Regions from separate parts of the Homo sapiens genome. Here region 2 is linked to region 1. Evidence: promoter capture Hi-C in 16 types of primary human blood cells and fetal thymus (Javierre and others, 2016). All regions are on one chromosome and are shown on one strand. Each heading gives the region's core, a stretch centred on a gene start or on the middle of the fragment in contact. The rest is flanking DNA. Distances are from core to core; before and after follow the strand shown.

Region 1 (5,967 bases), core at 2,885-5,384:
GCCCCCAGCGCCCGCCGGGGTCTGCGCGCGCCCGGCCGTCCGCACGTGCGCGCGGGGAGCGCGCCTCTGGCCGCGGTGCGCGCGGCCTCGGGCTGAGGGCGGGCGCGTGGGGTGGGCTCACCGGGCTCCGGCGTTTGAGCGTCACGTTCTTCCAGAGCAGCAGCTGCAGCTGGTGCAGGAAGCCCATGGCGGGGCCACGCTCCGCCGCCTCAGCGCCGCGGCCCGCTCCTCTGCGCGCCCCGCCGGGCCCCGCAGCCCGCCGCGCCGCTGGGCATCGCCCGCGCGGGGGCGGGGCGCTCGGGCGTCCGGGACCCGATCCGCGCTGGCTCCGCCCCGGCGGCCGCGGCGACAGCGACTCTGCCCGCGCCCCGCCCGCCCCCGCTTAAAGGCGCCGCGCTCCGTCCGCGCCCGCCAGGAGGCGCCCGCCGCCCGCGCCGCGCCCGGGACCGACCCGGGCCCGAGACCCTGCGCGCGCCGCCGCCGGGAAGCCTCCGGGCCGCCCCTCGCCGGGCGTCACGCGACGCGCCCACATCGAATCCGAGACCCCGGCTTAGCCTTCGTAGGCCGGGGGACCCTCGGGCGCTGCGCTCTTCTCCCAGAGGCATCCGGCTGCGCCCACCGCGCTGGCGACTCTGCAGAGGCGCCCCAAGCCTTCACTGTCCCCGGGGCGCGCCGAGCGGACGCTGGCGAGGGGCCAGCTCACCCCCGTAAGGGTCTCCTGTGTGCTTTGTAAACCAGCACTTGGAGTCCAGGTGGTGCCCACCTGGAAGGGAGGCAGGGCGGCCAGGTGGGTCCGTCCCGCGATTCCGAGCAGCCAGCGGAAGGGGGGAAACTCGAGGCCCCAGGAACGCTCGCCGTGAGCGGAGCAGGCAGGGGACCGAGGCGGCCCCTGCTGCACGCGGCTCGTTTTTCTCCCCATATTCGGGCGAGTCTGGTCTCTGCACAGGGAGTTCGGGATCAGGCGGTTCTGCGGCTGTGGCTTGGCACCTGCTGGGGCGCCCCGGGAGGTGGGGCAGTTCCTCCGCGTGGCCTGTAGAGAGCGACAGAGGACAGGCTGACCCCATGGGTGGCTCTGACGGCGCTTCCCAGACTCAGTTTCCCCCCTGTGAATGGGGTGGAGTAGCGCTGTGTGGTGTCCAGTGTCAGGGCGCACATAGAAGGCGCATCCTCAAGTGAATGAAGACCTCCGAGGCCACAGCTCCCCACTCCTCCCAGCTCCTTTGCAGCAGGAAGGTGACCCTGGGCTAGTGAGTGAGGGATCAGCTTCCCACCCCAGCCCGCAGCCTCAAGGCACTTGCTTTTCTCTGCTCAGTCCACAGGGCTGGGTCAGGGCAGGAAGCTACCAGCAGGTCTTTCCCACAAGCCACAGCCATGGGTGAGGGGGGCTTCCTGCCCTCAACCTGCCCACCCCTACCTGGGGTAGGGACAAGCCCTGTGCCCCAGCCCCGGGGGCTTAGCCTGTTGGGGCCCTGGTCAGCACCACCCGTGGGTTGGCCTCTCTCCTCCTCGCCCCACTCTCCACCGTCCACTACAGGGGCTCCCTGGCTGCAGCCGCATCCCCAGTGCCTCCCCAGCACTGGCCACCAGAGGGAGCTACAAGGCACAGGTCAGACCCTGTCACCCCAGACACCCTCCAGCCTGCGGGCCTGGGAGATGGGCGATTTCAGCCTGGCCAGGCCTCTGACGTCCGTTCCCTACTCTTCCCCAACCTTGGCCTGTTTTGGTTTTTGTTTTGAGACAGGGTCTCATTCTGTTGCCCAGGCTGGAGTGCTGTGGTGTGATCACGGCTCACTGAAGCTTCAACCTCCTGGGCTCAAGCCATCCTCTCACCTCAGTATCCCAAGTAGCTGAGACCACAAGCGTGAGCCACCACGCCCTGCTAATTCTTGTATTTTTGGTAGAGATGAGATTTCACTACACTGCCCAGGCTGGTCTCGAACTCCTGGGCTCATCGCCTTGGCCTTTTGGGGGACACAGAAGGCTCTCTGATAAGGGGCCGTCTGGCGGAGGCTGTAGGAACTGGGGTAGCCAGTGGGCAGCCCGGCACAGGGAGGGCTCTCAGGCGGAGGGTGAGCAAAGGCCCAGAAGTCAGGCGACAGGACCCCCCGTGGGGAACAAGCAGCCCCATGGCCGTGGGGGCGACATGTCAGGGGAGGGCAGATGCAGGCTCTGTGGCCCTGCACGGAGGTGACCCATGAGACACTGGCCAGACCCACGAGGCACTGCTCAGATGTTTATTGTCCACCGCCCTCCCTCCCTGAGCCCAGAACAAGCTGGTTTGCTCCCCGTGGTCTCCTGGGCCCCGCCCCAGCCTACACACAGGGACCTCAGAACTATGGACGTGGCAGGGACCCGTGCCTGTGTCTCGGGGACCACAGGGCCTCTGCTACCGAGGAAGCTCGGGGTCCCAGGTTTGGCCCCCACAAACTTCAGGCTGGGGTGCCCCCCAGCCCCAAGGGCCCTGCCTTTCACCCTCTTCCAGCCAGGCCTTCACCCACCCAAGATTTGTTCAGGGTGGGGAGGGTCCTCGGCAGCCTTTCCCCTCCCGTCTGCCGCAGCAGGCACCCGTTACCTCCCTCCCACTCTCACCTCCTCTGCATGCTCCAGTGCCCACCTGCACCCCCCACCCCTGCTTCCTGACCTCTGTGCCCAGCCTCCCGTTAGCCCGCTGCTTGCCGGTAAGGGCCGGATGCCTGGTGGTTTGATTTCGACACCCAGCCCTTCCACCCACACCCACCTCCCCCGGCCAGCGGATCTCAGGCCTGAAACCAACCCTCAAGGTCCTCATAGACTTGGCTGCGGGGTAGGTGTGGGTAGCGGTCACAGATGGCACAGAAACGTTCCCGCCAGTCGGTGAACAGTCGCACGCGGAGCCTGTCACGCCAGGCAAAGAAGCGTTGGTATCGGCTCTCATTCATGCCAGTGAGGAAAGCCGCCAGCTCTCGGGCTGAGCCAAAGTCATCCACATGCACGAAGGCGTCAGCCGGCACGAAGGCCTCATAGGTGGCCCGTGGGGGCCCCAGCACCACTGGCACAGTGCCAGCCACCAGTGCGTTGCGCCAGAATTTCTCCGTAATGTAGTCGCGGTGCTGAGAGTTCTCAAAGGACAGGTAGAAGCGGTACTGGGCCACGGTGGGCACCAGGCAGCTGGCGCACAGTGGCCGTCCATTGGCACGGCCAAAGACATCCACCCGCAGATGAGGCGCCAGCTGCCGGTACAGCCTGGCACGCAGCTGCCGCTCCTGGAAGTTGCTGACCACCCAGGCGGCCACCCTGCTCTTGGCTGGCAGCGGTGGCGAGGGCCCCCAGTGGGGCTCCAGGCGGCCATAGGGCACAAAGATGTCCGAGTCGCGCCGGTAGCTCAGCACCCAGTTGAAGATGCCTCGGAGGTGGCTGAGGCCGTGGGTGTGGCTAGGAGACTCCATGGAGGCCCACACCCAGGGCTGCCCTCGCGGCCGCTGGGCCAGGGGCAGGTGGGACCGCCGGGTCTGCAGCTCGCGGTGGTGGAAGACCACGGCGTCGGCGCTGGCCAGCAGGCTTCGGTTGGCACTCAGGTGGCAGCGGGCGATGCCGTAGCGGGTGCAGGTGTCGCTGGGCAGCTCTGGGGGCTGGTCAGTGAAGGGCCAGTGCCAGACAAGGATGGTGATCGTGGGCTGGGGTGCCGGGGTACCCCGAGGGGCTGACCCCAGCAGCCACAGGAGCCAGAGGGCAGCGAGCAGAGCCACCCCGGCCAGGACCCCCAAGCCTCGCAGCCTCCGGGTGGGGCCGTGCCCTGCAGCAGCACGAGGGAGGGGAGGCTCTGTCACTTGGGCTCAGGGACATCCACACGCCCCACTCAGCGCCAACCCCGTCCTCCCCTCCCATGGGCTCAGGGACACCCACATGCCCCACTCAGCGCCACCCCCGTCCTCCCCTCCCATGGGCTCAGGGACACCGACATGCCCCACTCAGCGCCACCCCCGTCCTCCCCTCCCAGGTTGCCTAGCTGTCCCCAGCTTGGGCCTCCCCGAGGGCCAGACACTCACCAGCATTATTCATCCACAGTCTCCCAGGATCAGTCAGCCAAGAGACCCGAGATTCTCAAATCACGGCAGCCGCCAGAGGTGCCCCTGAAATCACAGCTACGCCCTAGCTCAGCCCCGCCTGGAACTGTGCTCCTTTTATCTCTGCCCAAGGTGAGGGAACTCAGGGGACCTTCCTGCTCCTGCCCCGCCCCTGCCCCCACAACCTTTGGCATCAACCACTGTCCCCACCCCCATCTCGGGGACTTGCTAGTCCTGGGGCTGCTGGGAGGGGTACAGCCACAAGAGGGATGCCAAGCCAGGGCAATATGACGCCCCCACAGCCCACCCCACTGGTCTCCAGAGAGGCCCAGAGATGTCCAGCTGGGCAGGCAGAGGACAGAGAGGCTCGGGCAGGCTTGGCCCAGGGCAGAGAAGGCCCAGGTGCAGGCACCCTGAGCACAGATGGCCCCCCAGCCCCCACCCAGCTACCCAGGCCTGGGCGCTGCAGACAGCGAGTGCACTTCCCCAGAGGGCCAGGTGGCTCCTCCCACGGCAGTATCACCCACTTCCCCCAGCTCACCACCAGCTGGGCCCTGGTCTCCCAGGAGAATCTTACACATTGAAGATGTACTGTGCTCAGCTCTTTGCCGGAAGCTAAAGCTCCCAATTGGGCCATCCCACCCCACTCTGCCACCTCTGCCATCTAGGAACCCAGATGCCCGGAGAGGAGGTCTGTCCTGGGGCCCTTAGTGTCTTCCCACAGGAGCCCAGCGCGTGCCTGCAAGGGCCTGGTCCCGGAATGAACTGTGGATGGAGGCTGCTTTGTCCTTTTCCCCGTCCAGATCCATGCCCATAGACACCGCTGACTATAGGCTGGGCCCAGGGTCCCTTCCTCCAGCCTGCAGCAGAGGGGCTTTCCAGGCTGGAAAGGGAAGGAGTCCTTTTGTCCCTGACGCAAGCGGGTTGGGGGCCAGCACCCGCTCCAGGAAGAGGAAGGGATCCAGCCTGAAGTCCAGACTCCCCGCTCCCTCTAAGCCAGGGCCTGGAGCCTGGAGGCCAGGTTCCTTCTTCTACACCAGCCCACGTTGGGTGCCAGCCAGGCTGGGATGGCCCTGCGGGGTCACCCTGAGCCCCAGCCAACCAACACCCCACTCTCAGCCACAGTGGGAGGCCCCATCAGCCTCTTCACCCAACCACGTTGCCACTCTGCTGCACGGGACCTTGTGTGGTCCCAGGCGTGGCCAGACCCAGACGTCCTGGAGATCTCAATGCAGGTCAGGCTTGGTTTGTTTGTTTGTTTGTTTGTTTGTTTTTTGAGAGGGAGTCTTGCACTATCGCCCAGGCTGTAATCCCAGCATTTTGGGAGGCCAAGGCTTGTGGATCACCTGAAGTCAGGATCAAGTGGTGCGATCTTGGCTCACTGCAACCTCCACCTTCCGGGTTCAAGTGATTCTCCTGTCTCAGCCTCCCAAGTAGCTGGGATTATGGGTGCCTGCCACCACGCCCAGCTAATTTTTGTATTTTTAGTAGAGATGGGGTTTTCCCATGTTGGCCAGGCTGGTCTCAAACTCCTGACTTCAGGTGATCCACAAGTTTCAGCCTCCCAAAGTGTTGGGATTACAGGCATGAGCCACCGCGCCCAGCCAAGTTTGCTTTTTTGTGTGTGGGTTTTTGTTTTTTGTTTTTTGAGACAGGGTCTTGCTCTGTTGCCCAGGCTGGAGTGCAGTGGCGCAGTCACGGTTTGCTGCAGCCTCAACCTCCTGGGCTCAAGCAATGCTCCCACCTCAGCCTCCCAAGGAGCTGGGTCTATGGGTGTGCACTACCATGCCTGGTTAATTTTTTAAAATTTTTTGTAGAGGCAGAGTCTTGTTATGTTGTCCAGGCTAGTTTCAAACTCCTGGCTCAAGCAGTCCTCCCACCTCGGCCTCCCAAAATGCTGGGATGCTGGGAATGAGGACGCGTC
Region 2 (5,631 bases), core at 158-2,657, 220 kb before region 1:
CGAGACCAGCCTGGCCAACATAGTGAAACACCGTCTCTACTAAAAATACGAAAAAAAAATTTAAAAGAAAGTTGATGTCCGAACCAAGGGCCGTATTGGCTTTTCTTATACTCTAGAACATACGACGACAAAGAAGATTTTGATGAAGTTCAAATTAGAGTCAGCGTGCTCATCAGAAAGAAAGCGCAGCCAACACGTTTAGGAACAGAAACGGATTATGTTGAAGACAAACAATCCATTGCGTTTGTGTTCAGTAACCCAAGCATCAAAGGAACTTGTGGCTGGGGAGAAGGCTTGACTATTTGAAATCTCAGGACTCCTCTGTCCAGGAGCTCCCAGACTCCCGTGGAGTGGAAGCCTGGGGGCTCGCTGAAGAAGTCACGTGACTGGAACGTGCTTAATGCTTGGCTGTCTGGTAAGGAAAATAAAGTGGTGCATTTTGAATAAAAATAAAAGCTGATTTTAAATGTGTTATAATTGAAACTTTATACATAGCTGGCATTCGGAGAAGAGAATATTGAGTCAAAATAACTGAGTTTACGCCAGTTTTTAGACTCTGCGTTTGGATCCTTTATTTAATTTTATTGCTTACAGTATTGGCTAAGCTCAGTATTAGTCCCTGGGAAATCAGGCCTGGACCTGGAAACTGTTCACCTTCTGAAAAGGCTCCCCGAGGGTCCTGGGCAAGGTCCACCTCATGCACCAGGACCACCCCTGTGTGGTCCTGGGCGAGTGTGACTAAAAAGGGCAATGGGGTCCTTCCAGAGGAGAAAAGCCAGTCTCCAGTACTTGGAGAACAGGTTATGATCTCCTAGAACTGAATGAAAGGTGGTGAGACAGAGAGAAATTTGAATTTGTACCTAAATTACATTTTAGAAAGATGTTATCTTTATAGCTGAATAACATGCAATTTTAAAACTTTTGAGTTTCTGTGTTAGAATAGAAAGTTTCTAGTATTTCTTTTCTTTTCTTTTCTTTTTTGAGACAGAGTTTTGCGTTTTGCTGTGTCTCCCAGGCTGGAGTGCAGTGGCGTGATCTCAGCTCACTGCAAGCTCCTCCTCCCGGGTTCACACCATTCTCCTGCTTCAGCCTCCCGAGTAGCTGGGACTATAGGCACCGGCCACCACGCCCGGCTAATTTTTTGTATTTTTAGTAGAGGCAGGATTTCACCGTGTTAGCCAGGATGGTCTCAATCTCCTGACCTCGTGATCTGCCCGCCTCAGCCTCTCAAAGTGCTGGGATTACAGGCGTAAGCCACCATGCCCGGCTTTCTGGTATTTATTTTCTCAAATATTTTACAGAGCGTAACAGACCAGCAATGTGATCAAGACAGAGTCGAGGGTTTTGGGGGTGAGAGTTTCTGGGAACTGCTGCGGGTTTCCAGGAGTCTGGGCTCTCCTCCTGGGCCCTGCATTTGCTCGGAGTTGCTAGTGGTCCCGGTAGACGTGTGGGACACCCACTGGTTTTAGAATAAAAACTCGAATGAGACATTGGACCATAATGGATGAAAAAGTCAAACTCTGTCAAATATTTGAAGAGATTTATTTTTGAGCTGAATATGAGTGACCATGGCTCGTGACATAGCCCTCAGGTGACCCTGAGGACATGTGCCCAAGGTGGAGGGCACAGCTTGGTTTTATACATTTTAGACATGAGACAGTAATCAAATACATTTAAGATATATGTTGATTTGGTCCACAAAGGCGGGACAACTTGAAGTGGGGGCTTCCAGGTCGGAGGTAGTTTAAAAAAATTGTGTTTTTTTGCCGGGCGCGGTGGCTCACGCCTGTAATCTCAGCACATTGAGAGGCCGAGGCAGGCGGACAACCTGAGGCCAGGAGTTCAAGACCAGCCTGGCCAACATGTCGAAACCCCGTCTCTACTAAAACTATAAAAATTAACCGGGTGTGATGGTGGGTGCCTGTAATCCCAGCTACTCAGGAGGCTGAGGCGGGAGAATCGCTTGAGCCCAAGTGGCAGAAGTTACAGTGAGCTGAGATTGTGCCACTGCACTCCAGCCTGGGTGACAGAGTCAGACCCTGTCTCAAAAAAAAAAAAAAAAACAATTGCACCACCACACCCAGCTAATTTTGGTATTTTTTAGAGAGACAGGGTTTCACCACGTTGCCCAGCTGGGCTCAGACCCCTCTACTCAAGCAGTCCGAACCCCTTGGCCTCCCAAAGTGCTGGGATTACAGGCGTGAGCCACCGCGCCTGGCCAGATTATGTTTCTTATCAGACTTAAAGTCAGTGTTGATGTTAAATGCTGGTGAGCTTTTCCTGAATTCCAGAAGGGAGGAGGCCACAATGAGGCCTGTCTGACTCCCCTCTTCCCATAATGGCCTGAACCAGTCTTTCAGATGAAATTTGGATGGCCCTGGCCTAGAAGAGGAAGTCCATTCAGATGGTTGGCAGGCCTTGGGATTTTAATTTTGGTTTACACAATTTTGAAATTATTTGCATATAAAATTATTAGGAAAATTATTTGAAATTATTTGGAAGAAAGATTGTTGCCTGAGTTGGTCTGTCCCTTTCTACTGTGACTGGACACAAAATATCAGTTGTATTTGGTGCAGAATTTTTCTGTGGAGTTGCTCCTGAGTGAGCATTATTGTGCAGCTCTGATACTGGCCTGGCCCAGGAGCTCGGACAACCAGAGTCCTCTCTGAGTAGACACTGGTGCGAATTTAGAAATGGGACTTAGCAGGCCGGGCACGGTGGCTCACACCTGTAATCCCAGCACTTTGGGAGGCTGAGGTGGGCGGATTACATGAGGTCAGGAGTTCAAGACCAACCTGGCCAACATGATGAAACTCATCTCTACTGAAAATATGAAAATTAGCCAGGTGTGGTGGCGTATGCCTGTAATCCCAGCTACTCGGGAGGCTGAGGCAGGAGAATCGCTTGAACCCGGGAGGCAGAGGTTGCCGTGAGCCAAGATCACACCACTGCGCTCCAGCCTGGGCGACAGAGTGAGACTTCGTCTTAAAAAAAAAAGAAAAGAAAGAAAAGTTTATATGAATATCCAGTCAAAACAAACAAGGAAGGTATTACCCTTGAAATGTTGTCTATACGAATTTCCAAGGAGACCACAGGACTGTAGACTGTCTTGGAATGTCCTCAGAGAGCTCTGTCATTGATCAGGTAACGGAATAAAAACCCCAGCGTCCTTTCTTTCAAATGGGAGAGGGAAAGACAAAGGGACAGAAGCCGTTCAAACTTTGTCTTCTTTCCTTGTGGCTTGTGGTCACCTCTGCCTCCCCAGAAGCTGCCTCGCCCACCAAAGCCTTCCTGGCTTCTGCCACCACCTCATCCTCCAAAGCTTCCTCTACCTCCATCACAACCCCAAAGCCACCTTCGCCCTTAGGTTTGGCCCAGTCCAAGTTACCTTTGTTTCCCTCAATTTCACCATCTTCCGCGGCCTCCTTGGCGCTTTTGGCATCCTCCTCACTGTTGCCATCTACAGAGCCAAAGCCTTTGGGGCACCCGGTTTCCTGGTTGGTGACTACCCTTGCCCAACAAAGCTGTCGAATGACTAAAGCCTCTTCAGTGGTGTCCTCAGACAGGCCTTTGACAGACAGTTTTAGATGGCTGGCTCCTGGCATCAGGTGGTCCTTGCAACTCCAGCCTGATTGCCCTGCCCCCAGTTTCCCTTTTATTACAGGAATTTAAAGCTGCTTTATCATCTTCAAATGAAGCGAACTGTAAGTGCATGCACACCCTTTAGATTTGCCATTTTGGTTCTGGGGCACTTTGATAAAAGTTGCCTTGTCTCAGATTCTTTCTGAAGAGTTTCTTCTGTTGCACTGTAGGAGAGGTTGCTTAAACCAGAGTTTTTGATTCACCCCTCCAAGTGGTCTCTCTAGTCTTGATTTAGACCTTTCTCTCCATGATAGTGCAGGGAAATAGATCGGCCATCCATCTCTGTTCCCTGCGTTTCTTCAGAAGTTTTCTCTGCATTAGCTTCTGTCTTAACCTCAATATAAGCAGTCCCTTTACTCTTCCCATCCTTGCTGACTAATCCAATCTCCACAGCATCTTCAAACACTTTTTTGTTTTTTGAGCCAGAGTCTCGCTCTGTTGCCCAGGCTGGAGTGCAGTGGCCGTGATCTCAGCTCACTGCAAGCTCCACCTCCCAAGTTTGCGCCATTTTCCTGCCTCAGCCTCCCGAGTAGCTGGGACTACAGGCACCCGTCACCACACCCAGCTAATTTTTTGTATTTTTAGTAGAGACAGGGTTTCACCGTGTTAGCCAGGATGGTCTTGATCTCCTGACCTCGTGATCTGCCTGCCTTGGCCTCCCAAAGTGCTGGGATTACAGGTGTGAGCCACTGCGCCACTGCGCCCAGCCAAAACACTTGTAATTCATCCTGAGTGACTTTGTAAGGGAGATTTGTAGCCAAAAGTATTCTCACATCTTGCTCTTTCTTACTGTCTTTTCCTTTTGGTTTCTCTAGTTTAATTTCATTGCCAAAGTCTTTCAAACCAGCGAGTTCCAAGGCTCTTTCCAGGTCTTCAGCAGCTTGAAAATCCACATAGTCAGATTTCCTTGTCATACCCATTCTGACATCCACAACAGCAAGATCATTTTTAGCAAAAATATCATGGATACTAGTTTTTGTTTTTCTTTCTTTTTCGAGACAGGGTCTTGCTCTGTTACCCAGGCTGGAGTGCAATGGTGCTCACTGCAGCTTCCACCTCCCGGGTTCAAGTGATTCTCCTGCCTCAGCCTCCCCAGTAGCTGGGACTACAGGCACGCACCACTACGCCCGGCTAATTTTTGTATTTTTAGTAGAGACAGGGTTTCATTATGTTGGCCAGGCTGGTCTCAAACTCCTGACCTTGTGATCTGTCCACCTCAGCCTCCCAAAGTGCTGGGATTACAGGCGTGAGCCACCAGGCCTGGCCCATGGATACTAGTTTTTAACTCAGGAGCAGACTTGTTAAAGTTCAGGTTTCCAACAAAGATTGAAAGACGTTCCAGCCTGGCCAACATGGTGAAACCCCGTCTCTACTAAAAATACAAAAATTAGCCGGGTGGTAGTGGTACACGCCTGTAATCCCAGCTACTCAGGAGGCTGAAGCAGGAGAATCACTTGAGCCTGGCAGGTGAAGGTTGCAGTGAGCCAAGATTGCGCCACTGCAGTCCAACCTGGGCGAGAGAGTGAGACCCTGTCTTAAAAAAAAAAAAAAGGCACAGTTGGTTCTGTGCTTCTCACTCTCCACTTTGTGTTTCTTGGCTTCAGAAGCTGCTGTTTGGTCATTTCCTTCATTTTCCAGGTGCTTCTTTGACAGACCCTTCCTCCTCTTTGTCGTCTTCATCACTTCATCCTCTTCATCATCGTCACCCTCGTCCTTGTCCTCATCATCCTCTTCATCTTCATTCCCAGCCATCCTCTTGGCTTTCCCAGGAACAGCATTTGTAGAAGCTTTCTTTCCTTTGGCTGGTGTTGTTTCCATAGGTGCTGCTTCAGAGCCATCTTCCTCAGCATCGTCCTCATCGTCCTCGTCCTCATCCCCTGAGGCAGGGGCACCCGCTGCTGCCTTCATCACTGCTGGTTCAGAGTCATCCTCCTCCTCATCGCTGTCTTCCTTCTTGGCGTTCTTGCCGTTCTTTGCCCCCTTGGCTGG

What was found. Contacts are between HindIII fragments. The CHiCAGO score rates a contact against its expected background, and 5 or more counts as called.
Region 2: a fragment that was not itself captured here is called in contact with the fragment with the promoter of FUT7 in region 1 in 3 of 17 cell types (naive CD4 T cells, non-activated CD4 T cells and naive CD8 T cells); the score reaches 7.2 in naive CD4 T cells.

The regions. Positions count from the first base shown.
Region 1 is chr9:137,027,954-137,033,920 of GRCh38, forward strand. FUT7 (fucosyltransferase 7) reads right to left here and starts at 4,135. Exons shown (of 2, transcript NM_004479.4): 1 at 4,026-4,135; 2 at 2,221-3,772. The coding sequence starts at 4,038. The coding sequence ends at 2,757. LINC02908 (long intergenic non-protein coding RNA 2908) reads left to right here. Exons shown (of 3, transcript NR_171031.1): 2 at 4,045-5,278. It overlaps ABCA2 (ATP binding cassette subfamily A member 2), which reads right to left and starts at 284. Exons shown (of 49, transcript NM_001606.5): 1 at 122-284. The coding sequence starts at 187. RefSeq lists a silencer at 362-541 and enhancers at 425-1,169, 4,170-4,279. The HindIII fragment of the contact is 19,925 bases long and covers 1,796-5,967 here.
Region 2 is chr9:136,809,572-136,815,202 of GRCh38, forward strand. The region is part of intron 1 of RABL6 (RAB, member RAS oncogene family like 6); the gene reads left to right. It also overlaps the pseudogene LOC100422233 and the pseudogene NCLP1. Among named protein-coding and RNA genes, the nearest start is that of CCDC183-AS1, 3.5 kb to the left of the region's middle. The HindIII fragment of the contact is 3,825 bases long and covers 1-3,320 here.